2 separate regions of the Homo sapiens genome follow, and region 1 is linked to region 2. The links are contacts of gene promoters, found by promoter capture Hi-C in human tissues and cell types (Jung and others, 2019). All regions are on one chromosome and are shown on one strand. The core of a region is centred on a gene start or on the middle of the fragment in contact, and the rest is flanking DNA. Distances in the headings are between cores, read along the strand shown.

The links. The method cuts DNA at HindIII sites, captures the fragments that hold promoters and counts their contacts. A contact is called where the count stands out against the background at its distance.
Region 1: a fragment that was not itself captured here is called in contact with the fragment with the promoter of DOCK6 in region 2 in 1 of the 25 tissues and cell types used here (spleen).

Annotation. Positions count from the first base shown.
Region 1 is chr19:11,446,454-11,452,547 of GRCh38, reverse strand. It overlaps PRKCSH (PRKCSH beta subunit of glucosidase II), which reads right to left. Exons shown (of 18, transcript NM_001289104.2): 10 at 5,388-5,474; 11 at 4,930-5,109; 12 at 4,759-4,855; 13 at 4,257-4,326; 14 at 3,919-4,008; 15 at 3,560-3,634; 16 at 3,373-3,472; 17 at 3,120-3,282; 18 at 1,580-1,902. The coding sequence ends at 3,136. It overlaps ELAVL3 (ELAV like RNA binding protein 3), which reads left to right. Exons shown (of 7, transcript NM_001420.4): 7 at 1-1,222. Among named protein-coding and RNA genes, the nearest start is that of PRKCSH, 14 kb to the right of the region's middle. RefSeq lists enhancers at 1-312, 237-356, 387-436. The HindIII fragment of the contact is 3,843 bases long and covers 2,127-5,969 here.
Region 2 is chr19:11,259,733-11,266,305 of GRCh38, reverse strand. It overlaps DOCK6 (dedicator of cytokinesis 6), which reads left to right and starts at 3,782. Exons shown (of 48, transcript NM_020812.4): 1 at 3,782-3,909. The coding sequence starts at 3,866. RefSeq lists silencers at 3,698-3,857, 3,928-3,987, 4,068-4,207. The HindIII fragment of the contact is 27,433 bases long and covers 1-6,573 here.

The DNA of each region.
Region 1 (6,094 bases), core at 2,799-5,298, 190 kb before region 2:
AAGAGGAAAAAAAAGCAACAAAAAAAGAAAACACACAGAAGAGATTTAAAAAAAAAAAAGGAAAAAAAAAAAAGACATAAACTGGCACCAGTTAACTTTCTTGTACTTTTTTGCTGAATTTAGCTTCTTGTAGTTTTAACTTATTGCTATGTTAACTATTTATTCTCCTCGTTGCCCTGTAAGGACATCCGTGTATATTTCTGTTACTTCATCCGGTTTGCAAGTTAAAGGAACGACAATGTTCTCTTTGTTTCTTTAAGTTTTGCCGAGACATGGTTATGCCTAATTTATTTATAAAAGGGGAAGTGGAATCATTAAAGTAATAATAATTATTAATAACAGTAATGGTAGCCGAGTGGCACGCGGGGGCGTGTGCTCTGCGGGACAGTCCCCACGGCCAGCGACGTCCAGGTCACCAATGGGATTCTTTTTGCTCTTGTCTTGAGAATTTTTTCAGTCCTATTTAGCTGGTGAAATCCCTAGCTTGTTCTTGATACACGAACCTATTTATTCTCGTGGTTTTAAGTCCTCCCTGCCCTCTCTCCTCTCCCCTGCAGCAGGGCAGGGACCCCTCTCCCCTGCTGTCTCTTGGGGCTCTCTCCCCTCCGCCCTCTGCATTCGGGAACACGCACGTCCGCGTGGGAAGCTTGCAGCAGGGCGTCCGAGCAATAAGGGCTGGGTTTGTCCCCCACCCTGGGGGGGGCCAGGCTCCAGAGAGGGGGCACCTCCCCACACACCCCCCCCCCACCGAGGCCTAGGCCCCTGCCACCCCCAAGACTGGGAGGGGACTTCTTTTTCTAAAACACAAAACTCAGCCCAGCCAGGCCCCCTCCCTGGAGGCCAGCCCCTCCCCGCAGGGGGCCAGGCCGGGGCTCCCAGGCGAGGGGGACTTGGGGCTTCCACGTCCCTGGGGGGCAGGGGCCAGGCCAGGGGGGAGGGGGCTCAGCCCCTCCACCCCTCCCTTCATCCTGTTATTTATTCGGAAGGTTTCAAATCACGACAGAGTCCATGTTGGAGGTGATAAAAAACTGTAAAAAAAAAAAAAAAAAAAAAGACAAAACAAAAGACAAAAAAAAAAAAAAAACCCAACAAGAACACTTCGCGTTGCGTTTAGACTATTTATTACCGGGATCACAGGCCTGGCCGCGGTAACAGACTTTTACATGGAATTGTTTAATTATTTGTACTTTTCATGCCAGAAAATAAAAGTTCAGAATCTTAAGGCCTTGGGTGATCTCTGCACCGCTGCGCGGGGAGCACGCAGGAGCAGCCTGTGTAGTAGCGCCCAGGCCCCCGTCCTTCTCTGGGCCTGGGTCTGTCTGCAGCAGGGGCTTTGGCCCCGGGAGGGAACCCTTGGCCTCCACAGAGCACAGATGAGACCCAGGGAAGGTGGGACACGGGCCCGGATGGATGCTCAAGACAGAAATGGTCCAGGGTCCATCCACCTGGTATCTTCAGGAGTGATCCCCAGATGGTGGGGGAGGCCCGGGTGGGATCTGCAGAAAGCTGCGTCCCCTGCGCTCAACCCCTGCCCACACCCCGGTCCACACCCCAGCAAAGCGAGGCAGACACAGACAAGTTTGGGTGGGGGATCACATTTATTGTATTGAGGTCACAGGTCAAGTCATTCACTAGTCCCCACTAGGAGGGGTGGCAGGGACAGGGCTGGGGGTGGTGGGGCGAGTCACCAAGGTGGGGGGCCCAGGGAGGGCAAGCTCCTTTACCCATCTTTGAAGGCTGTTGGGGCCTGGGAATGTGGACCAGCCCCGCCTGGGCCCCAGAGCAGGGCACGAAGCCCCACAAAGGTCCTGCCGCCACAGAGGAGGGCAACAGAGCCACAGGCAGGCCCAGAGGGGCGGGTGGACGGCACTGCAGGGGCTGGCTTCATGCCTTCTTGAGGTTCTGGGGCAAGAGAAAGACCAGATTAGAAAGCTGGGGACAGCTGGACATGGTGATGTTTGCCTGTAGTCCCGGCTGCTTGGGAGGCTGAGGTGGGAGGATCATTTGAGGCCAGGAGTTGACCAGCCTGGAGACCTTGTCTATTTTCTCTTATTATTATTATTTTTTTTTTTTGAGAGTCTCACTCTGTAGCCCAGGCTGGAGAGTGCAGTAGCATGATCTTGGCTCACTCCAACCTCTACCTCCTGGGTTCAAGTGATTCTTGTGCTTCAGCCTCTTGAGCAGCTGGAACTACAGGCACCTACCACCACACCCAGCTAATTTTTTTGTATTTTTAGTAGAGATGGGGTTTTACACCATGTTGGTCAGGCTGGTCTCAACCTCCTGACCTCAAGTGATCCGCCCACCTCAGCCTCCCAAAGTGCTGGGATTACAGATGTGAGCCACGACGCCTGGCCTATTTAGTTTCAAAAGTAAAAAAATCTTTTTTTAAAAAGCAGGGGATGGCCAGACATGGTAGCTCAAGCCTGTAATCCCAGCACTTTGGGAGGCTGAGGAGGGCGGATCACGAGGTCAGGAGATCGAGACCAACCTGGTTAACACAGGGAAACCCCATCTCTACTAAAAATACAAAAAAATTAGCCAGGCGTGGTGGCGGCGCCTGTAGTCCCAATTACTCAGGAGGCTGAGGCAGGAGAATTGCTTGCACCCAGGAGGTGGAGGTTGCAGTGAGCCGAGATCGCGCCATTGCATTCCACATTCCAGCCTCGGCAACAAGAGTGAAACTCCATCCAAAAAAAAAAAGGCAGGAGATGGCCGGGTGTGGTGGCTCATGCCTGTAATCCCAGCACTTTGGGAGGCCAAGGCAGGTGGATCATCTGAGGTCAGGAGTTCGAGACCATCCAGGCCAACATGGTGAAACCCCATCTCTACTAAAAATTAGCCAGGCATGGTGGTGCACACCTGTAATCCCAGCTACTTGGGAGGCTGAGACAAGACAATTGTTTGAACCCGGGAGGTAGAGGTTGCAGTCAGCTGAGGTCGCATCACTGCACTCCAGCCTGGGCCAAAGAGTGAGACTCCACCTCAAAAAAACAAAACAAAAAAGCAGGGAACATGGGGACACAGGTTGATAGAGTGGCCATGTGGGTCCATCTTCCTCAGGGCCCGCCGCCTCCCCTTGCTGGGGCAGGCCGACGAGACTCCACCTCCCCGCCCACCTCTGCGCCCATCCAGCTAGAGCTCGTCATGGTCGTCTTCGGTGGGTGCTTCAGGCGGTGGCTCCGGGCAGGCGGCTGGCGTCATCAGCTCCATGAGGTACTCGCAGCGACTGGGCTCTGTGGTGCTGGTCACCATGGTCTCTTTCCCGCACAGGAGGCGCACCTGGGGATGGGCAGACGGGTGCTCGAGAGGGTTCGGCTGGGCCAGGCCTGGGTCTCCCCGCCCCAGCTCCCCTGCCTTGCAGGCACTCACGGTGGTGGAGCGGTTGGGGCCCTGCCAGCAGCCCGTGCCTTGCTCATACTTCATGGCACTGAACTTGTCGTGGTCGGGGCCAATCCATGAGCCCCAGGTGCTGTGAGAGACACAGGGTGCTGAGGGCTGGGCCGGTGTCGGGGCACCAGGAGGAGGCAGAGGGAAGGGGCCAGCCCAAGCCACTCACCCAAGGCTGGTGGGAGAGCCCCCGAGTTTGGGTTTCTGCGAGACAAGCTTGAAGGGGCAGAGGCGGTAGACGTATCTGTGGAGGACCGGGACATATGGGTTGGGGAACGCAGGGATTCCAGCCTCCTCCCACAGCCACCCCCCACCGCCTCCTCCAGTCCCCACACACAGGGTACCTCCAACTCCAATGACCAACCCTAAACCTGGCCCCTGGCTTCTGCTCCCCCTCAATATGGAAGGCAGCACTCTCGGGCCCCACCCGCAGATGGTTCCCCAACCATCAGGAAACTGCCGGTGCCACTTCCGGGGCCACCCGCCTCCCACCCTGCCAGTGGGGGCCCCTGCATTCCTGGGACGCACTCGTTGGTGGTGAGCTCGTAGCACTGGCTGTACAGGTAAGCAAACTCCCCGTTGGGGCCAAAGTCAAAAGAAATCTCTTGCTCCAGGTTCCTGGAAGGGGAGGCGGAGCGGTTAAGGGGCAGCTGGGGACGCCAGTGCCTGACCCAGGACGACAGACACAGGAGGGTCTGGCTGAGCAATGGTGCCCAGGCTGTCCTCCCTGCCACCTCCCAGGGACCCTCCCTGCAGGGACCAGGCCCAGCCTGTGGTTGCCTCAGTGATTCCCCATCACCAGCTCCCCTGGGAGTCAAGGAGCAGTCGCTGTGGGACAGGTGTCCCCGCTCCTCAGCCCCCGCTACCTGATGGACTCCTCCATGTCCTTCAGCGACCGCTCGGCCTCCTCGAACTTGTTGCGGGCCTCCTGGGCAGCTGGGAGAGGGGTTGGAGGTCAGAGATGTCCTCAACCCCATCCAGGAGGATGGGGAACGGGGTTCCATGGATGTGGCTGTGTGCTCCCATACCCTCATTTTGCTCTGGCCAAGGACTTCACCCCGACAGCCTTGAGGGCCTCACCAGCTATAGAGCAGCCCCGACTTGCTGCCCAGGCTCCCAGCTCCTGAGCGAGTGGGGCCAGGAGTGACACAAACAAGCTGCGGCCCTTGGGGAGGCAGAAGGGCCCCTTGGGGCTGGCGAGGGTGGGACTGGCTTACCCTAGGCCCCCTTCCTGGACTCCCCAAGATACTGGGGCTTGTGCTGGCCGAGTCAGAGCAGGGTCTAAGCTCAGGATCTTCCCTCGACCTGTGCCACCACGGCAGGAAACGCTGGGCCCACCCGAGGAGCCTGGCCCCCGCCCACCCTCACCATCGATGAAGGCCTGCGTCTGCTCGTCGTAGGGCGGCATTTTGTCTTCCTCAGCAGGGCTGGCCGGCTGCGGGGGTGACAGTGGCGGTGGGGCCTCCTGGGGCAGGGGCAGGGTCAGTGAGTAGCCCTTCCCCCACCCTCTCTGTCTCCACTTCTCCCCCAAACACGGACCTTGGGCTGCTCCCCCTGCACCTCGGAATCCTCCTCCTCCTCCTCTTCTTCAGCCTCTTCTTCCTCCTCCTCCTCCTCCTCCTCCTCCTCCTCTGTGGGCGACGAGGGCACTGGCGGCTGCTCCTCCTTGGGCTCCGTCAAGTCAGGGGCAGAAGGTGCTGGAAGGTCGGTGGGCAGTGCCTGGCGGGTGAGCAGTGCGGTCGGTGTTGTGGACTCAGGGTCCACCCACACCCTCAGGCTCACACCACAGCCCAAGGGGCAGCCTCGGTGTCTCTGCCCCTCCTGCGGGGCCTGCAGGGAGGACCGACAGCTGGGGTCGGGGGGTCTCGGTGGGGGGTGCTGGGGCCACCCAGCTGGCCAGGGTGGCCAGGTGCCAGAACCAGAGGCAGCTCCTTTGTGAGGCGGGGTGGGGGCAGTGTGGTGGGAGGACCAAGTCCCCTCCCTTCTCCTCCACTGACCTCGGACCGGTACTTGTCCCTGATGGCGGCCCAGACGCGGTCGTAGAAAGAGGTGGCGTCTGTCTGTGTGTCCCCACTGAGGAGGGCCTGTGTGTGTTGGGGGTGGTGTCAAGATCTAGGCCACCACGTGTCCCCCATCTCGGCCACCCCGGCACCCGGGCTGCGGTGCCAGGCACGGGAGGGCTGGGCCCCGGGCCCTGATGACCAGGCCAGGGCCACGCCAGTGAGGCACTGCGGCCAGGAGGGGGCAGCACAGGCCCGTGGGAGGGGAGGAGGAGACCAGGGGCTGGAGTGGTTGGGGGCACTGAGACAGAAAGAGAGAAGCAGATGGACAAACGGACGTACAGATGGAGGAAGAGAGAGCCCAGGACCAGAGAGGGCCAGGCCCTCCAAGGGAGAGGCCAAGGCCCAGGCTGCAGATGGAGAGGGAGAAACCCAGGGGTGGGCAGAGAAGGGAGGCCAGAAGCCAGGGGCCACGGGGAAGGAGGAGGATAGGAAAGGAGACAGACAGGGGACGAGGGTGTGGGGGAGGAGGGGAATAGGGCAGGACAGGGGTGGGGGAGGAAGGGGATTGGGTGCTCAACAGCGGGTAGAGTGGGGGCAGGTGCGGGGAAACGGGCTCCAGCGCGACCTGGCTCCATCCCGGGTCCTGCCAGGCGGGAAGCGGCCCTGAGTGGCTGCCATCCCAGCTCACCCAGAGGAGGCAT
Region 2 (6,573 bases), core at 2,533-5,032:
GCTGAGATATAAGGGACAAAGAAGGGTGCAGGCAGACGAGGAGTGGATGGAACAGCATTCCACGTGGAGGGAGCAGCATTAGGCAGCAGCGTGGGTGAAGGAGACGGTTTTTGACTCCTCTCTTACTCTAACTTGCAGATGGACTCACTGTCCAGCCACCAGTGAGCCATCTGCTCAGAGCCCACCGACTTCTCACCTCCCCTGTATCCTCACCCCATCCAGGCCTATCATCCCTAACCTGGACCAGTACAGCCCCTCCTCCCTGGTCCACCAGCTCCAGCCTCATGTCCGCAACGTGTTCTCCACGCAGTAGAGCAGAGGAGGCCAAAGTCCCCGCCACCACGCTCAGCCTCTGTTTGATCAGCTGTCAGGGGCACCCCAGCCACACCCAGCTGAGTCAGGGCTGGTGGTGCTCTGGAGAGAAATAGCCTCACCAGTCAGGTCTGGCAGGCACTGGGGCGGGTACTGTGCTCGAGGCATCTGGGGTAGGGCCTTTGATTGGAGCAATCTCTGAAGCAGCGTTTCCACCAAGGCAGGACATGGAGTCGCTGAGCTCAAAACCCCCTTGGGCTTCGACAGGGAATGGGCCCTGACAAGGCCCTGAAGTTTGCTGCTCCATGGCTCAACCTACCTCCTGATGTCTGGGTCTCAAGCTGTGACCAACCACGAACTCTCAGGGAGCAAACAAGGAAACTGGGGCTCAGAGAAGTTGAGCAATTTATCCTGGGTCACACAGCCAGGTCTGATGGAGACCCAGTGAGACTTTAGAGACAACCGCTTTGGGATCAGGCTCCCTGGAGTCAAATCTTGGATCTGACACTGATTCACTAGGCTACATTAGGGCGAGTCCCCTCTCTGGGTGTTCTTCAGTTTCCTTATCTGTAAAAGGGGGCTACTGGCAACGCCCATATGTGGGAAAGGGAACAGAACATGCAAAGGTCCTTGAGTGGAGCTGTGTCCTGGTGTTTAGAGAAGCATCCAGGAGGCAGGGGCAGCTGGAGTGGAGTGAATGAGGGAAAGAAAAGGAAGAGGCAAGCCAGGGAGGTGACAGGGTTGATCATGCTGGGCCTTGTGGGTTGTGGGAGGACTTTGGTTTTGTTTGTTGGTTGTTTTGTTGTTGTTGTTGTTTTGAGACAGGGTCTCACTCTCGCCCAGGCTAGAGTGCAGTGGCGCAATCTCAGCTCACTACAACCTCCACCTCCTGGGTTCAGACGATCCTCATGCCTCAGCCTCCCGAGTAGCTGGGATTCAGGCTCCCACCACCATGCCCGGCTATTTTTTGTATTTTTAGTAGAGACGGGGTTTTGCCATGTTGGCCAGGCTGGTCTGGAGCTCCTGACCTCAAGTGATCCACCCGCCTCGGCCTCCCAAAGTGCCAGGATGACAGGGAGCCACTGTGCCCGGCGGGTTGTGGGAGGACTTTGGCTTTTACCCTGAGTGAGGTGGGAGCCATGGAAGGTTCTGAACAGAGGAGGGAACTGAAGTGATGCAGGTGTTCCCAGGCTCTTCCTGGCCACTGATGCAGGAACAAGCTGGGGGGAGGATGAGAAAGGAAGCTGGGAGACCGGATATAAAGGGGGCTGGACTGGAACTAGGCTAAGAAATGTGCAAATCTTCGCTCATCTGCATATTTCCTGCCCAGCCTAGCTCCCAGCAGCCTGAGAGGCAAGGCGGGGACACTTGGTGGGGCATGGCGGGGAGTGATGGGCGGAGCTCCACCTGGCCAAAGTGGCTGGACCACTCCGGGCAGGCACGTGGGCTGTGTGCACATGTCACATGCCAGGCTGTGAGCAGCCCTACTGCGGCCTGACTAGCAGGATGCTATCCTGCGTCTGACTGGCAGGGTTTGGGGGTTCCCCTACAATCCAGGCCTCTTTCCTGTGGGTTCAAGGTCTGACATGGATTCATTGGGCAGCAAGGCAAGAAACTGTGTCTCGGGGGTGCATGGTGACTCAGGGTGGGCATGTGGCTCATTCCTGTAATCCCGGCACTTTGGGAGGCCGAGGCGGGTGGATCACCTGAGGTCAGGAGCTCCAGACCAGCCTGGCCAACATGGTGAAACCCCGTCTCTACTAAAAATACAAAAAATTAGCCAGGTGTGATGGTGGGTGCCTGTAATCCCAGCTACTCGGGAGGCTGAGGCAGGAGAATCGCTTGAACCTGGGAGGCAGAGGTTGCGGTGAGCCGAGATTGTGCCATTGCACTCCAGTCTGGGCAACAAGAGCGAAATGCCACCTCAAAATAAATAAATAAATAAATAAATAAATAAATAAATAAATAAATAAATAATAGAGGATAAAATGCCAGCAACCCATAGATGGGAATGAGAACAGCACGTGCAAAGGCCCTGAGGCAGAGCCACGGCCTTGTCTGATTCAACCTCAAATTCTCCCTGGGGCATTTGCTGACCAGGGAAAGAAGGGCTGTCCAGGAGGAAGGACCTGCCGGTGCAGAGGCATGCAGGTGAGAAAGGGGTGAGCTCCTCCAGAGGGGAGTGTCGGCTGGAGAATTCTCTAAAAATGCTGCAGCAGTGCTGGGAGAGAGGCCAGTGGGGAGAGATTTGAGACCATAGATTAACCAAGACATCCCCACCTCTTCCTCTTGGTAGAGGCGGCCCCGAAAGTCTAGACTCCCAAACTGGCTCACTCAGGTCCCACCACCTGGACCTGGGGCACATCTCCGAGCACTCCAGTGCCTAGCCAGGCTCCTCTGACTCCCATGCTGTAGACTGGGAGCACGGACAATGCAGGCGCTGGAGACCCCTGTGAGTCACACTGAGCAAGCACCCGAACACCTCTGTGCCTCAGTTTACTCATCTGTAAAAGGAGGAAAACAATAATTTCTTCTGCATGTGTGAATTGCAGGGCCAGGCTCAATGACATCTTAGCAATTAGACTTTTTGAGACAGGGTCTCGCTCTGTCACCCAGGCTGGATTGAAATGGCACAATCACAGCTCACTGCAGCCTTGACCTCCCAGGCTCAAGCGATCCTCCTCCCTCAGACTCCCAAGTAGCTGAGATTACAGGCACACACCACCATGCCTGGTTAATTTTTGCATTTTTTGTGGACACGGGGTCTCATTATGTTGCCCAGGCTGGTCTCCAACTCCTGGGCTCAAACAATCCTCCTGCCTTGGCCCCCCACAGTGCTGGGATTACAGGCATGAGCCACCATGCACGGCCACGATTATACTTACAGGTATGATTATTAGATACATGAACATCGTTATTGTTTTCCAGCCAGGAGTCAGAGGGCAGAAAGAGCGCCCCCCAAACCCCGGAAATCTGGGGCCTACCCAGCCTGGGTCCCAGCGCCTCCCCTCCCTCCCTCCCTCCTGAGCTTCAGTTTCCCCAGCCCTGCTCCTGGGGTGGTAAGACCACCCCACTAAACCCCGGGAGCCTGGGGTCCACCTAGCCCGGGTCTCAGCGCCTCCCTTCCCTCCCTCCCTCCTCAGGCTCAGTTTCTCCAGCCCAGCTCCCAGGGTGGAAAGAGCGCCCCCGCCAGCTCGGGAGTCTGGGGCACCCCCAGTCTGGGTCCCAGCGCCTCCTCTCCCTAACTTCCCTCCTCAGCCTCAGTTTCCCCAGCCCTTCTCCTAGGGTAGAAAGAGCGTCCCCCCAGCCCGGGAGTCTGGGGCCCGCCCAGCCTGGATCCCGGGGCCTCCTCTCCGTCCCCAGCCTCAGTTTCCCCAGCCCCCAGGACTCCAGGCGACCCCTCCGGCCTGCAGGGGCAGCACGGAGCGGCCCGGGCCACCCGGAAGGGCCCCGCCCCCGCGCCGGCCCCGCCCCGCCCCGGCTGCCCAGAACCGGGAGGCGGCGGCGGCGGCGGGGCCGGGGCCCGGGGCGGCGGCGGCGGGACGCGAGGACCATGGCTGCCTCCGAGCGCCGCGCCTTCGCGCACAAGATCAACAGGTAGTGTGGCCGCGGGGCCCCCTCCCACCTCCCCCACGTGGCCCGGCTCCGCCCCGGGGCGGTGCGACCCTCCCCGCCCGGGCGCCCCCAATTCAACCCCTTTCCGCCTCGGCCCGGGTCCCGCCAGCTTCCTCCGGCCGGGGCTGGGAGCGGGAGAAGGCGGGGAGGGCCGCGGGGGTCCCGGCGGGGGTCCCAGATGGGAGTCGCGTCGGGGCTGGGAGCGCGATGGCGGCTGCCGTTCTGCCTCCGTGACGCGCGGGGGTGTGTCCGGAGGGCTTCCCGGAGGAGGTGGCGTGGGGATGCGGATGACGGGCGCCCCCTGAACTCCCTGCGCTCCCCGTCCGCCTCTCGGCCCCTCACTGTCCCCGCGCTCTCGGAGATCGGGGTGGGCCGGACTTTCTGTTCCTTCCTCAGTGCCTGGTTTGGGGCAGGGAGGCTCCAGGCTCTGAGATTTGGGGACAGAGATGGGCTCCTTGGTGGCGTTTGAAACCCCTCGAGGAGTTTCCCGTGCCCTTCCCCCTCCAGGGTCCAGTGCCCAGCTGTCGGGGGGGGGGAAGGGGGACAGCTGTGGACGCCCCCCCACCTTCTGCTTCAGGCTCTCCCGTCACGGGCTGGACCGCGCTGGGGATGGATGGGTGATTGAATGGAGGGAGTGGGGGCTGGGGACAGAACCAGCTGGTGGGCAGACGGGGGAGGGGACAGGCCCCAGGCGCTGGGGGATCCATTTCCGTGGCCACTGGGGATTGTGAGAGTCACAGCCTGGGAGGGGTATATCAGACTCTCTGGGGCTGAAAAGCCTCGCCCCCAGTTGGCGGGGGGTCTTTGCGACAAGGGTGCGTTCAGAAGCTCAGGTATCCTCTCCCCGGGGGACCTGTCCTGACTGCCCCCAGGTGAAAGAGCTGCCCTGTGGGTTGGGCCCTGGTCTTATGGAGACAAAAGATCCCCCTCTTGGGATATAGTGGCGGAGAGAGACCAGAAGCCTGATCGAGTAGATTACCTGTCAGTGACAAGTGCTGTAGGGACAAGAAGACAGGGAAGGGGGATGGGAGGGTGGGGGCTGCTTGAGATGCGGGAGGTGGGTCAGGAAGGCCTGGATGAGCAGGTGCCTTTGAGCAAAAACCTCAAGGAGATGAGAGAGGGATCGATCGAGGCCAGTTTGTGGGGGGAAAGAGTGGGAAGGGTTTGTGCAAAGGCCCTGAGGCAGGAACAGAGAGCTGGAGGGGGACAGTAAGAGTAGAATGTACAGGGTCGTGTGGGCTGTGCAAGGGACTTTGACTTTGGACCCCAGGTGAGGTGGGAGCCATGGGGAGTTCTCAGCAGAGGAGGGATGAGACTTGGTGGCTGGGGCGTAATGGCTGGGCAATTTTTATGTTCTATCATTATCTTTGTCTGTAAATTGGCTTTCAAAATGTCTTAGACCTTTGGCGTCTTTGAGGCTGCAAACATTATTGCTGTCTGTTTCTTTTTCTTTCCTTTTCTTTTTCTTTTCTTTCTTTCTTTCTTTTTTTTTTTTTGAGACAGAGTCTCGCTCTGTCACCCAAACTGGAGTGCAATGGCACAATCTTGGCTCACTGCAACCTTCGCCTCCTGGGTTCAAGCGATTCTTGTGCCTCAGCCTCCTGAGTAGCTGGGGTTACAGGCGCCCACTACCACACCCAGCTAATTTTTGTATTTTTAGTAGAGAGGGGGTTTCACCATGTTGACCAGGCTGGTCACGAACTCCTGACCTCAGGTGATCCGCCCACCTCCCAAAGTGCTGGGATTACAGGTGTGAGCCACTGCACCCAGGCTTTTTTTTTTTTTCCTTTTCTTTTTTTGAGACAGGGTCTTGCTCTGTCACCCAGACTGGAGTGCAGTGGTGATACCTTGGCTCACTGCAGTCTCAATCTCCCGGGCTCAAGTGATCCTCCTGCCTCAGCCTCCCAAGTAGCTGGGACTACAGGTGTATGCTGCAACACTCAGCTAACTTTTTAACCTTTTGTAGAAACGGGATCTCACTATCTTGCCCAGGCTGGCCTCAAACTCCTGGGCTCAAGTGATCCTCCTGCCTCGGCCTCCCAAATGCTGGGATTACAGGCGTGAGCCATTGCGCCCAGCTTGCTGTCTGTTTCTTTGCATTTTGGTCTGTATGTCCTTGGGTCCTGGTTTTTACTCAAGTGAGAAAGAGGGGTTTTGGATACTGTAGAGCTCAGGGTAAGAGTAGAGAATGATCCTGGGGCCCTAGTGAACTGTGAGGGAGTGGCCCAGGGCTTCCAGAGCAACTTCGCTCTTGGGCACCCAGGTGTCTACATACTCAGAGCTGGTCCTATATTCATCTGTTCATCCATTCAGTCATTTATTCCACAAATACCAGATTAACCCGAATATTAGACAATCTTCCAGCTACTCCAGAGGCTGAGGCAGGAGGATCACTTGAACCCAGGAGGTGGAGGTTGCAGTGAGCAGAGATCGTGCCACTGCACTCCAGCCTGGGTGACAGAGTAAGACTCTGTCTCAAAAAAAAAAAAAAAAAAAAGGCCGGGCGCGGCGGCCCAGGTCTGTAATCCCAGACTTTGGGAGGCCGAGGCAGGTGGATCACCTGAGGTCAGGAGTTCGAGACCAGCCTGGCCAACATGGTGAAACTCCGTCTCTACTAAAAATACAAAAAGTTAGCTTTTTGTAACT